2 separate regions of the Homo sapiens genome follow, and region 1 is linked to region 2. The links are contacts of gene promoters, found by promoter capture Hi-C in blood cells and fetal thymus (Javierre and others, 2016). All regions are on one chromosome and are shown on one strand. Each heading gives the region's core, a stretch centred on a gene start or on the middle of the fragment in contact. The rest is flanking DNA. Distances are from core to core; before and after follow the strand shown. Region 1 has its middle 45 kb from the start of ATP6V0E2. Region 2 holds the start of ACTR3B (actin related protein 3B).

Evidence for each region. The method cuts DNA at HindIII sites, captures the fragments that hold promoters and counts their contacts. A CHiCAGO score of 5 or more calls a contact.
Region 1: a contact is called between a fragment that was not itself captured here and the fragment with the promoter of ACTR3B in region 2, in 15 of 17 cell types (M2 macrophages, total B cells, endothelial precursors and 12 more). The highest score is 23.8, in M2 macrophages.

What each region holds. Positions count from the first base shown.
Region 1 is chr7:149,915,978-149,921,740 of GRCh38, forward strand. It overlaps a transcript of ACTR3C not described here. Among named protein-coding and RNA genes, the nearest start is that of ATP6V0E2, 45 kb to the left of the region's middle. The HindIII fragment of the contact is 9,060 bases long and covers 1-5,763 here.
Region 2 is chr7:152,755,775-152,761,657 of GRCh38, forward strand. It overlaps ACTR3B (actin related protein 3B), which reads left to right and starts at 3,978. Exons shown (of 12, transcript NM_020445.6): 1 at 3,978-4,152. The coding sequence starts at 4,109. It also overlaps the pseudogene RN7SL845P. RefSeq lists enhancers at 3,620-3,779, 4,780-4,829 and silencers at 4,030-4,549, 4,310-4,604. The HindIII fragment of the contact is 7,028 bases long and covers 1-5,057 here.

The DNA.
Region 1 (5,763 bases), core at 1,069-3,568, 2.8 Mb before region 2:
ATATATAATATAGCTTGAAAGTGCTTGAAAACAGTATATATTTATAATGTGAGGCCAGCTTAATAGGGACACAATGCTAGGTTCAAATCCCAGCACCAGCTATGTGATTTCAGGCAAGTAAATTAATCCCTTCATTCCTTGGTTTCTTCATCTCTAAAACGTGGGTAATAATCCCTACCTCAGTGTTAAATGTTGCCATTTTTGGATAATATTTCCTAATTCAAAAGAAGTAGGATTTCATGGTGCAGTGATTTATTTACTTATTACTGAATATTATTTTTTGTATACTAGTGATCTCTATTTCTCTCATGAATTGTCCTTGGATAACTTTTCTACTGGAGTTTTAGTGCTTCTTATCAATTTGTGTGAATGCTTATACACTGAGGATATTTGTGCTTGCTCATTACATTGCTAATTTTTCCCAGCTTGTTGTTTACCTTGTTATACATTTTCTGCAATATAAGTATTTAAACAGTCTAGGTGATCAAATCTACCAATTATTTTCCTGAATAATTTCCTTTATTATGTTTCTACTTTGAAAGTCCCTCTATATGCTAAAATGTCATATCATTTCTCTTCCACTTTTATATATATATATTTTATCCCAAATGGGAAGAACTACACTAATCCAATTTTCCCAAACATATGTATATAAGCATTCAAGACCATCAACTTTGCATTAAAAGCCCTTGGTTTTTTTAACACTACCTTCCCAAAGCTAGCATGATGGAGGTAGGCACTACTCTCAAAAATACATAAACTATACTTACAGATTGCCAGCCATGTTCTCAAACTCACACCACCTTCCATGAGTCCCTTAACTTGTCTGAGACCTTTTCTCATACAGAAATCAGGAAAGACAGAAGAGGAAGCTATGGAAGCAGACCCAATCAATAGCTGCATAAAGCACTACCAATAGTTACATGTCTGCCTTTTAAGCAAAGAATATGTTATAGCTCAAAATTCAAAGCAATATAAAAAGGTATCCTTTAAGAAGTCTTACACTACCCCATTTCTGCCTTCTATCCACCTTCTATTCCTGTGTATCTTTCCGATGCTTCTCTCTGTACATACAATATATTATTATTTGCCCCAAATATTTTTTTTTTTTTTTTGAGATGGAGTTCCGCTCTTGTTGCCCAGGCTGGAGTGCAATGGCGCGATCTTGGCTCACTGAAACCTCCGCCTCCTGGGTTCAAGCGATTCTCCTGCCTCAGCCTCCCGAGTAGCTGGGATTACAGGCATGCGCCACTACGCCCAGCTAATTTTGTATTTCTAGTAGAGACAGGGTTTCTCCATGTTGGTCAGGCTGGTCTCAAACTCCCAACCTTAGGTGATCTGCCCGCCTCGGCCTCCCAAAGTGCTGGGATTACAGGCTGAGCTATCACACCCAGCCTGCCCCAAACATTTTAAACAGTTCTTGCACGAAGACTCTTTCACTTTACTTGTTAAATGCTCCTATCTTTTGACAGCAGTAATATGTAGACTTTTCAGTTCTGCAAAGTCAGGAAAATTAACCTATTGTTGACTCAACATATTTATATATAATTGAAACTCCTCTTCCAACCATGTGTCTTAAGCAGAAGGTAATGAACCTAAGGTCAATTAATTTATGTTTGAAAGTAGAAATGTTACATCTTAAAACAGTGTTTTACATCTTTTTTTTTTTTTTTTTTTGAGACAGGGTCTCACTCTGTCACCCAGGCTGGAGTGCAGTGGTGCAATCATAGCTCATTGCAGCATTGACCTCCTGGCCTCAAGCAATCATCTGCCTCAACTTCCTGAGTGGCCGAGACTATAGGTGCACGACACCATGCCTGGCTAGTGTTCTCAAACTGTGTCCTGTGAGAAGTTCTTTTGATTGAGACCCCTGGTGAGGTCCAGTCTCAAACCCCAAACTTCAATCAGAATAGCTCTACTCCCTCTTAAGATTTTTCACAGTTTAAACATGGTTTTGATAAAAGTAAAATTGTTCCCAGACGCTAACAATAGTTTTAAAGCAACGCACAATCTCCATATTGTGCAATGTAAATTACATGACCAATTTTTTTAATGTTCCTTGGCTTGCTGCATAGAAAAGCATAGTCTCTATAGAACGAAGAATTCAATATATAAAGTTCAAACTTAAATATTTTATCCAGATCCAGTATCTTTGCCCGTCCTTAAATTTTCTATTTCTCCTTCTGAGTACTTTTTTTTTCTCTATGTTACTTCGTATATATAAGATCATAAAGCACACTGCCCTTTTGTGAATTCTGAACATTGTTGTAAGGTAAACTCTGACTTCCAGTTAAAGTGTTTTAAAAGTGTTTTAACTGTTTAAATGATGGACTAAACATATTATCTAATTTCACTCTTTCCCAAAGCCCCACTAAAACCAAAGCAAAAAAAATTTTTAAGCAATTATTTTAAAAATTAAAAAAAAAATTTAGGCCAGGCGCAGTGGCTCACACCTGTAATCCCAACACTTCGGGAGGCCGAGGCAGGCGGATCACCTGAGGTCGGGAGTTCGAGACCAGGCTGGCCAACAGGGAGAAACCCCATCTCTACTAAAAATACAAAACTAGTCAGGTGCGGTGGCGCATGCCTGTAATCCCAGCTACTCGGGAGGCTGAGACAGGAGAATTGCTTGAACCCAGGAGGCGGAGGTTGCAGTGAGTTGAGATCACGCCATTGCACTCCAGCCTGGGCAACAAGAGCAAAACTCCATCTCAAAAAACAACAACAACAAAAAATTTAAAGCAATATTAAACCATGAGGATGTGGAGAAAAGAAAAGGTGACAACAGCAAGATTTTGGCCCTGAAAAGCTGAGGACCCATCGTGCCTGACTTTAGAGATATAAGAAAGACAGCAGGGGCAAGAGCTGAGAACGAGCCCAACACACTCCCTAGATCCTTAAAGGCTCTGGAACTTGTTGGTGCCCATGTACCTGTGGGACTGGAATAGGAGGGCTGAGGAGCAAGTGCGGACAGCCCAAAATACTCAGGCCATGGTGAGACCCTCTGCCGCCCCACACTGCTGGGCACTTGCTCCTCCCTGGCTTCAGCCTTCTCTACAAGTTTTCCGGAATGTGTAAAGCAAAGGTTCTCTGCACCCACAGTTAACTGGCAGGGTCGGAGTACAATGATAAAATCAAACATTTTTAAATAAACCAAAAAAATAATAATTAAACCCTTGTTTCATTTAATTTTTTTTGTTTTGCAATCAAATAATACTCACGCTTTCTTTTACTGTGCATTTGTTTGGCTTATTTTTGAACCATCCTTTTGCTTTTTTTTTTTGAGACAGAGTCACTCTGTTGCCCAGGCTGGAGTGCAGTATCATGATCTCCACTCCCTGCAACTGCCACCTCCCGGGTTCAAGCGATTCTCCTGCCTCAGCCTCCTGAGTAGCTGGTATTACAGGCATCCACCACCATGCCCAGCTAATTTTTGTATTTTTAGTAGAGACGGGGTTTCACCATGTTGGCCAGGCTGGTCTCGAACTCTGACCTCAAGTGATCCACCCACCTCGGCCTCTCAAAGTGCTGGGATTACAGGCGTGAGCCACCGCGTCTGGCCCCTTTTACTTTCTTTTTTGAATTTTTTTCCAACCTTTTACTTTCTGAATGAATGACTTATATGTAACTACCATAGTTTTTGTTTAGTACAGAAAGTGAATTTAGTTGAGTCCATGCCAGGTGAGGTCATCTCAGGTGCAACAGTCTTACTCGTTTTAACTTTTGTACTATTCCTTGTTGTTGCCTGTTTCCTTTTACTCTGTAATCTATTTTATTTGGTTGCTTTTCTTCCTCTCAATTTTACTTTTACTTTTACATTTCAAAGGTATACAAAGTCTGTTTTTAGCATAATAGCCTTCTCAATTTATCAATTTCAAAAAAATGAAACAGTATTCCTTAACCACATATTCTGAAAGATACGACAATTAGCACAGTGGTATCTCCCACTCCCCAGCCCAAACCTAACCTAATCCCCCATGATATTGTTGACTTCCAGGAAATTTTGCTATGGCATGTTATCATTGTGTTGACATTTTTAAGGTTGAGTCGGTATTTATTCAATTGTTTTTGCCTTCTGGCTTATTTCTCCAAGAAAGATTATTCAATTATTGAAGCTGGTATCTTTATACTTCAACCTCTCTATTTCTGGAGCCCTCACTGATTCATCTTTCAGTTGGCTGGGTTATATCTGCAAGTAGATTTTTCAGTGAGGTTTATGAATGCCATTAATTCCTGAGCTTTTGCCCATTTGCAAATGTCTTATTATGCTGCATTTTAATGACATTTCAATCCAATCACATTGTCTTCCTTCTTGCCCTAACTCCCCTACTCTTGTTTTTTCCTTTTGAGCCAGAGTCTCGCTTTGTCACCCAGGCTGGAGTGCAGTGGCGCAGTCACAACTCACGGTAACCTCGAACTCTTAGATTCACACTATCCTCCCACCTCTGCCTCCCAGGTTACTGACACCACAGGCACGCATCACCACACCTGGCTTTTTCTTTTAGGGGGCAGGGGGACAGAGACAGGGTCTTGCTATGTTCCCCAGGCTGGTCTCCAACTCCTGGGCTCAAGCAATCCTCCTGCCTTGGCCTCCCAAAGTGCTGGGATTACAGGCATTAGCCACTGTGCCCAGTCCCCCTACATTCTTAAGCATTGCTTCATCATCTTTTGGCACATTACACTGTTGAAAACCCCAAGACTAAGGTGATTTTATTTTTTCCATTATAGGTGGCCTGTTGGCTTTTTTCCTGCTTAAATATGTGTAGTATTCTTTTATCTTTTAGGGGTTTGTTTTGTTTTGTTTTTGAGATGGAGTTTCACTCTCGTTGCCCAGGCTGAAGTGCAATGTCATGATCTTGGCTCACCTCAACCTCTGCCTCCCAGGTTCAAGCGATTCTCCTGCCTCAGCTTCCCAAGTAGCTGGATTTACAGGCATGCACCACCACACCTGGCTAATTTTGTATTTTTAGTAGAGATGGGGTTTCTCCATGTTGGTCAGCTGGTCTGACCCCAGGTGATCTGCCCACCTCGGCTTCCCAAAGTGCTGGGATTACAGGCGTGAGCCACCGTGCCCGGCCTATCTTTCAGGTTTTATAAATTAACCAGGATACGCTTCCATTTTAATGACTCTGAATTTTTTCCAGTTCACAGTGAGTCCTTATATTAATATTATATGATCTTTCATTATATTCCAGGAAAACTTTGTCTTTTATTTATTAATGTTACATCTGTTCCACACACTCTGTTCTCTTCAGCAGGAACACCAGCTCTGACTACAGTAGATGCCTTCTGGACTCTTCTCCCACAGCTTCCATCTTCTTTCTAATCACCATGACCTCTTTGTTCTTTCCTACCGTGGTCTACGTAATTTCAGGAAGTTGATCCTCACATCAGTGATTTCAGAACCACTGGTACTACCTCATGTAACCTCCAACATGCTTTTAATTCCTGAAATGATTTTAGTTTTCTATTTCTTTCCTTATGGATGTCAGCTGACCTCCATCTCCTCCTTTTAGCTTTCTTTAATCTTTTAAAATTACTTCTTTGTTCTTTTGTTTTATTGAGCTCGTGTTGTCTAAATTTAAGAGCAAAGTGGCTTTATCTAAAATTCCATTCTAGCTGGGCACAGTGGCTCACACTAGTAATCCCAGCACTTTGGGAGGCTGAGGCAGGCAGATCACCTGAAGTCAAGAGTTCAAGACCAGCCTGGCCAACATGGTGAAACCCCATCTCTACTAAAAATACAAAAATTAGCCAGGCATG
Region 2 (5,883 bases), core at 2,728-5,227:
TGGCTTAAACAACAGAAATTTATTTTTTTCAGTTCTGGAGGCTAGAAGTCTGAGATCGGGGTGCCAGCAGAGTTGGGTTCTGGTGAGGCTTCTCCTCTTGGCTCGCAGACAGCCACCTTCTTGTGTTCTCACAAGACAGTGCTGTGTCTTCACACAATGGCCATTCCTCTTCTTGTTGATCAAACCCAATTTCAGTCAGGTATTAGCAGCCATATATTTCAGAGGAGATGAGGCCCCTCTCCAGCCCAAGGGGGTCTTCTTCAATAATCTAAGTCAGTTCAGTATATCAGGTGTGACTATTTCATAATTACTATTCTGAGTCTTGCCTCATCCCAGCACCACTCTCAAATGAACTTGGAATAAACACCATTCGATGCTGGCAATGCTATGTATGTATGAATATGAATAAACCATCCAGTGACTGCTTTTGGCACAGGTTGGAATTATGGATTGAACTGTGTCTCTACAGAAACATGCTGAAATCCTAACCTTTGGCTCTGGTGAATGTGATATTTGGAAACGGGATATTTGCAAATGTAATTAAGTTGAGATGAGGTCATTAGGGTGGGCACTAATCCAATATGACTGGCGTCCTTATAAGGAGAATGCCATGTGAAGATGCAGACACAGGGAGAATGCTACGTGATGATGGAGGCAGAGATTGGAGTGATGCACCTACAAGCCAAGGAATGCCAAGGGTTGCCAGCAGCCATCAGAAGCTGGGTATGGAACAGATCCTCCCCTAGAGTCTTCGAGAGAACATGGCTTTGCTGACACCTGCATTTGGCCTTCTGGCCTCCAGAACTGTGAGAGCATAAATATCTCTTGTTGAAGCCACCCAGTTTGTTCTACTTTGTCATGGCCACCCCAGAAAAAGAATAGAAAAAGAGCTGATTAATGACACAAGAAGAGAAGCAGCTGGGAACTTCCGGAAACATTTCCTCCCACTGCCTTTGAGAAAGGGCATCAGGATGGGGCATTTCTTCCACTGTTTTTGTCCATCATGATTTTGGTGCATGGAGGGGCTGCAGCCGTCTCAACACTGCATGGGATAAGCTGAGGACAAACGACAACACGCAGGGCCCTGGCAGAGCTGAACGTACAGGCCCATGATGATGCCATCGAATGGTCAAATTATCCTGGAGTCACTGGATTTCCTATTGTGCGAGATAACAAATTTGCTCTTTCCTTGTGCCACTTTTAGTTAGGTTTTCTGTTATCTGCCTACAAAACACCTTTGATATATCAAGGGTTAGTGGTATCTAGAGGAAATCACTGAGGTCAGGAAATCTTTTGTTTTCTACCAGCTGCTGACCATGGCCATCAATCCCAATGAGTCCTATGCAGAGAAGATGCTCCCTGAAATCGCACACCCTTTATTACTAGCCAGTCCCAAATTCCTGTAAAGACTTCTTCCCTGGTGTAGTAGCTGGGTCCTATACAAGCCTTGAGGTCTTTCTTCCTGGGCTTTGTGCATGTTTTCCATCCCAGAAACACTCTTCCACCCTACAGTCTCCTCCACCTAGCTACTCTGCCCACCTTCTGGGTTTCAGCTTCAATATCATTGCTTTGAGAAGTTTCTACTGATTCCCAAGTCAGCCCCTCTATGGCTTTCTGGGCACCCTGGACTTGCCCTGTCTTAGCATTGACTACACTGTATTGTAATTGCCTGTTTACTGTTGCTATCTCCCACTGGACTCTTGTGGGCAGATACTCTGAACATCCTGTTTACTGCTGCATGCTCAGTCTAACACAAAGCCTGACTCACAGTAGGCGCTTGATATATGTTTGTTAAGTGAATAAAATAAAAGACATGGCAGTGTCAACAGTCTGTAATTTAGAATTAATCTATGTTTAGGCTAGGGCCGTGAAAAAAATGGGAGCTGGGCTGGGAGCAGTTGTACTTGCCTGTAGTCCCAGATACTCGGGAGGCTGAGGTGGAAGGGTCCCTTGAGCCCAGGAGTTCTGTGCCACCCAGAATGATGGATCTGCACTAAGTTTGGCATCAATATGGCACCCTCCCAGGAGCGGGGAACCACCAGGTTGCCTAAGGAAGGGTGAACTGGCCCAGGTCAGAGATGGAGCCGATCAGAACTCTCATGCAGATCAGTAGTGGGACCATGCCTGTGAATAGTCGCTGCCCTCCAGCCTGGGCAACATAGTGAGACCCTGTCTCTAAGAAACAAGCAATAAGAAAAGAAAAAGAAAAGGGACCAAGGCAGGGCTTTGGCAAAACACAAAGCAAGCCAGCCAATCTTTAACCCCAGCCTTGGGCTTCTAAACTGGGATTCCTCCACACTTACTCCTTTTTATTTTCCTCCCATTTGCTTCTCTCTTCAGTTCTCCTGAACATTCTCTAGGTCTGGGCCTTAATGGGTACTTATGAGTTAAAAAAAAGAAATGATGATGGGTTACCTAGGAGTGGTCAACGTATCTATTACTTCTAGGTAAAAAACACAATGTTTTAAGTACCTGTAAAAACAACATGTCTTGGCTGGGCGTGGTGGCTCATGCCTGTAATCCCAGTACTTTGGGAGGCTGAGGCAGGCAGATCACGAGGTCAGGAGCTCAAGACCAGTCTGGCCAGCATGATGAAACCCTGTCTCTACTAAAAATACAAAAAATTAACCGGGCATGGTAGTGGGTGCCTGTAATCCCAGCTACTTGGGAGGCTGAGGCAGGAGAATTGCTTGAACCTGGGAGGCGGAGTTGCAGTGAGCCGAGATTGCGCCACTGCACTCCAGCCTGGGCGACAGAGTGAGACTCATCTCAAAAAACAAAACAAAACAAAAAAATACATGTTTCCAGAAAGCTCCTAAAAAATTAGTATCAAGAATTTACGATCGGGCAAGAAGCAGGAAGCAAGTGGCAAGTGGGACTCTCAGTACCTTTATAATATAGTAGGTGGTGTTTGCCTTCTTTGGTTTCAGTAAGAACTTTTGGGCGATCATCCCATCTTCGACACTTGAAAACATTTTCCAGGAGTGATCTTGGTGTGGTTTACTCAGTCTAAGGCCATTCATTCCTTAAGGCTGGCCAAGCATTTGTTTTGCAGATTTTTCTTCTTAGAAAAATTTAGGCCGTGTTAGGTATAATAATTCCAACTAATTTTTTTTGTTGTTTTTTTGAGACAGACTCTCGCCCTGTTGTCCAGGCTGGAGTGCAATGGCGCGATCTTGGCTCACTGCAACCTCCGCCTCCCAGGTTCAAGCGATTCTCCTGCCTCAGCCTCCGGAGCAGCTGGGATTACAGGCACCCGCCACCACGCCCGGCTAATTTTTGTATTTTCAGTAGAGAAGGGGTTTCACCATGTTGGCCAGGCTGGTCTGGAACTCCTGACCTTGTGATCCACCCTCAGCCTCCCAAAGTGCTGGGATTACAGGCGTGAGCCACCGCGCCCGGCCAATTCCAACTAATTTTTTTTTTTTTTTTTATTATATGGGGAAGGTTACTCAGTCATTCAACAAACATTTGGGCACTTCCACAGGTACACCAAATACTGTGCTAAGCACCTGCTGCTCATCAATAGTGATTAAGACAGACTCAAGCCCTATCCTAGAAGATTTGATAGTCCAGTAGGGGAGGCAGACAACAAATACATAAATATAAAAATATAAACACTTTGCTTTAAGGGTTAGGAATGAAACCAACAGATTGTTGAGACAGAGGATACAGTACCGGTAGGGGACATAGTCAGGGTGATCAGGAACAACTTCCCTCGCAAGGTGACATTCGAGCGAAGACTTACAGGAGGAGAAAGGCGCCAGGCCTCGGAAATGGGGTCACGTTCATGTAAGTCAGTTAAAAATAAACCCCAATCTCTCCAGCAGCAAGGTTGGACGTATGGGGCCAAGAAGCCTCGCTGCCAGCACTAAAGATGGCGCGCCGGAGTGGGGGTGGGGGTGTTGGGGGAGGCGGGGCGTGCGCGCGTTCTGATTGGCCGACCGGGGAGTGACGTCACGTGTCGGCCGCCGAGCATCCGGGCTCCCGGCAGCGGCGCTGCGGCGGCTCGCGGGAGACGCTGCGCGCGGGGCTAGCGGGCGGCGGAGCGGACGGCGACGGGGCGCTCTCGGGCTGCCGGCGGGGCCGAGCGCCGCGCGTCCCGAGCATGGCAGGCTCCCTGCCTCCCTGCGTGGTGGACTGTGGCACCGGGTAAGAGCAGCTCGGCGCCCACCCCCGCTCCTCCGCGGCCCCGCTCCCGGCCCCTGGCGTCCACCTCGCCTGGAGGTCGAGCTGCGTCCGTCGCCCCGGGCTTGAGCCCCGCGATCACCTGGGCAGGTGGGGCGCCGGCCGCCGCTTCCCTCCAAGCCTTGCCTTGACGTCGTAAAACCCCCTCTTCCCTGCCGGGAAGGGCCACAAGAGGAAAAGCACGGAGGGTAGGGACGCGGTGCCCACTCTGAGCGAGCCCGGCGCTCCTCGCCTCCCCCGCCCACGTGGCCGGGCCCCTGGACCCGCAGCCCGGCTCCGGCCGTCGCCGGGGTGGACACCCTGAGGGACACCGGGAGCGCGGGATCTCCCCTCCTAGGAATATTCGCCAGCGTGAGGCACAGATCATCACTGCAGATCCTTTAACGTCACTCATCTCCTAGTGAACGGTGTCCCTGCCTTCCAGCGTTCTCAGCACTGGCCCTCGTTCTGTCCCCGCGTGTGCGTGTCATTCCTCCTGGCTGAGGATTCTTTACCACCTACTTGTGGAGAGAATAGCATCGATCTCCCAACTTGATACCATTTTTACTGCCCTCCCTGCGCTTTTCCAGTATGAAATGGCACACTCAGGCCAAGCTGTCCCTTTGGTTTGCATAGATTTGCCTTTTCGCTGAAAAATGATGTGTTTAAAAAGACTCCATTTTGAAAAATACCCTAAATTTGGGAGAGCATGTTTGTGGAATTGTGGTAGAGGTTTTTGTTTTTAACTTTTTGAGTGTGACCACTTCTTTCGTTGCCGTTAAGCTATTAAAAAGAGATCTTAGGAAATGCCCTGAAGTATCGGTGACCCAAGTTAGCTGGTTGTAGTAAGGTGATTGCTGAATCCATGTAGCTGGTAGTTTGGGAATACAAGCTTGCCTGCCTGCGTTATGGGTGTAGTGCTTAGTAAAATAGCCTGGAAGTAAATTTGGTCTCTTAGCGATTTTTTTCAAGAAGGGATTTTAATCATTTTTGCCACAAAATGTAACATGGCATGTTCACCTTACCCTTGATTCTTTTCTATAGAAAAATGCACTTGGTTTGGTTTCCTTGACAACCTTGTGGGGGTGCCTTCTTTAGTTTGCTACAGTCCATCTCCTACTGTTAGTTCCTTCCTTTTGCTGCTGAAGCGACCAGAAGTGGTTGTGGACTGGAAAAATCCTCTTTGCTTGTGTGAATTCTTTTTGAAATACACGTCATATCAAGCTTTGTAGCTCTTTATTTTAGAACTTGCTTTTCTACCTAAAACACAAGCCAAAATCAGCGTTGTCGATACTACAGCTCCCCTCCCTCAATTATTGACACCCTTAACTCATGCCCTCCCCCAATGGGTTCACCTCAGGTCCCCTCAGGTCTGGTTGTGTCAAGAGTGAAACCAGTGGGTGAAAGTATTTTTCATTTCCACATTTGCATGTGAGATTTTTGCTTTGTAGTTTTAGTCTTGCAGAACTATTAAAATATAAAGGAATTCTTGGTAGTAGCAATAAAATAATGCTCACAGAGTTGTCATACCTTTAAGATTAGTAAGTCGTGGACCTTACTCATCTTTCTTGCTATAAATACCTAAAATGTCGTGCTCAGTTTTGACCTTTTGAGGTAAGTGATTAATGTAACTTGGCTAACTTGGAGATTCAACTTCTATAGATCATTGTTTTGTGGCCCAAAGTCATGCTTCAGAAGTTGGTGTCAAGACTTAGA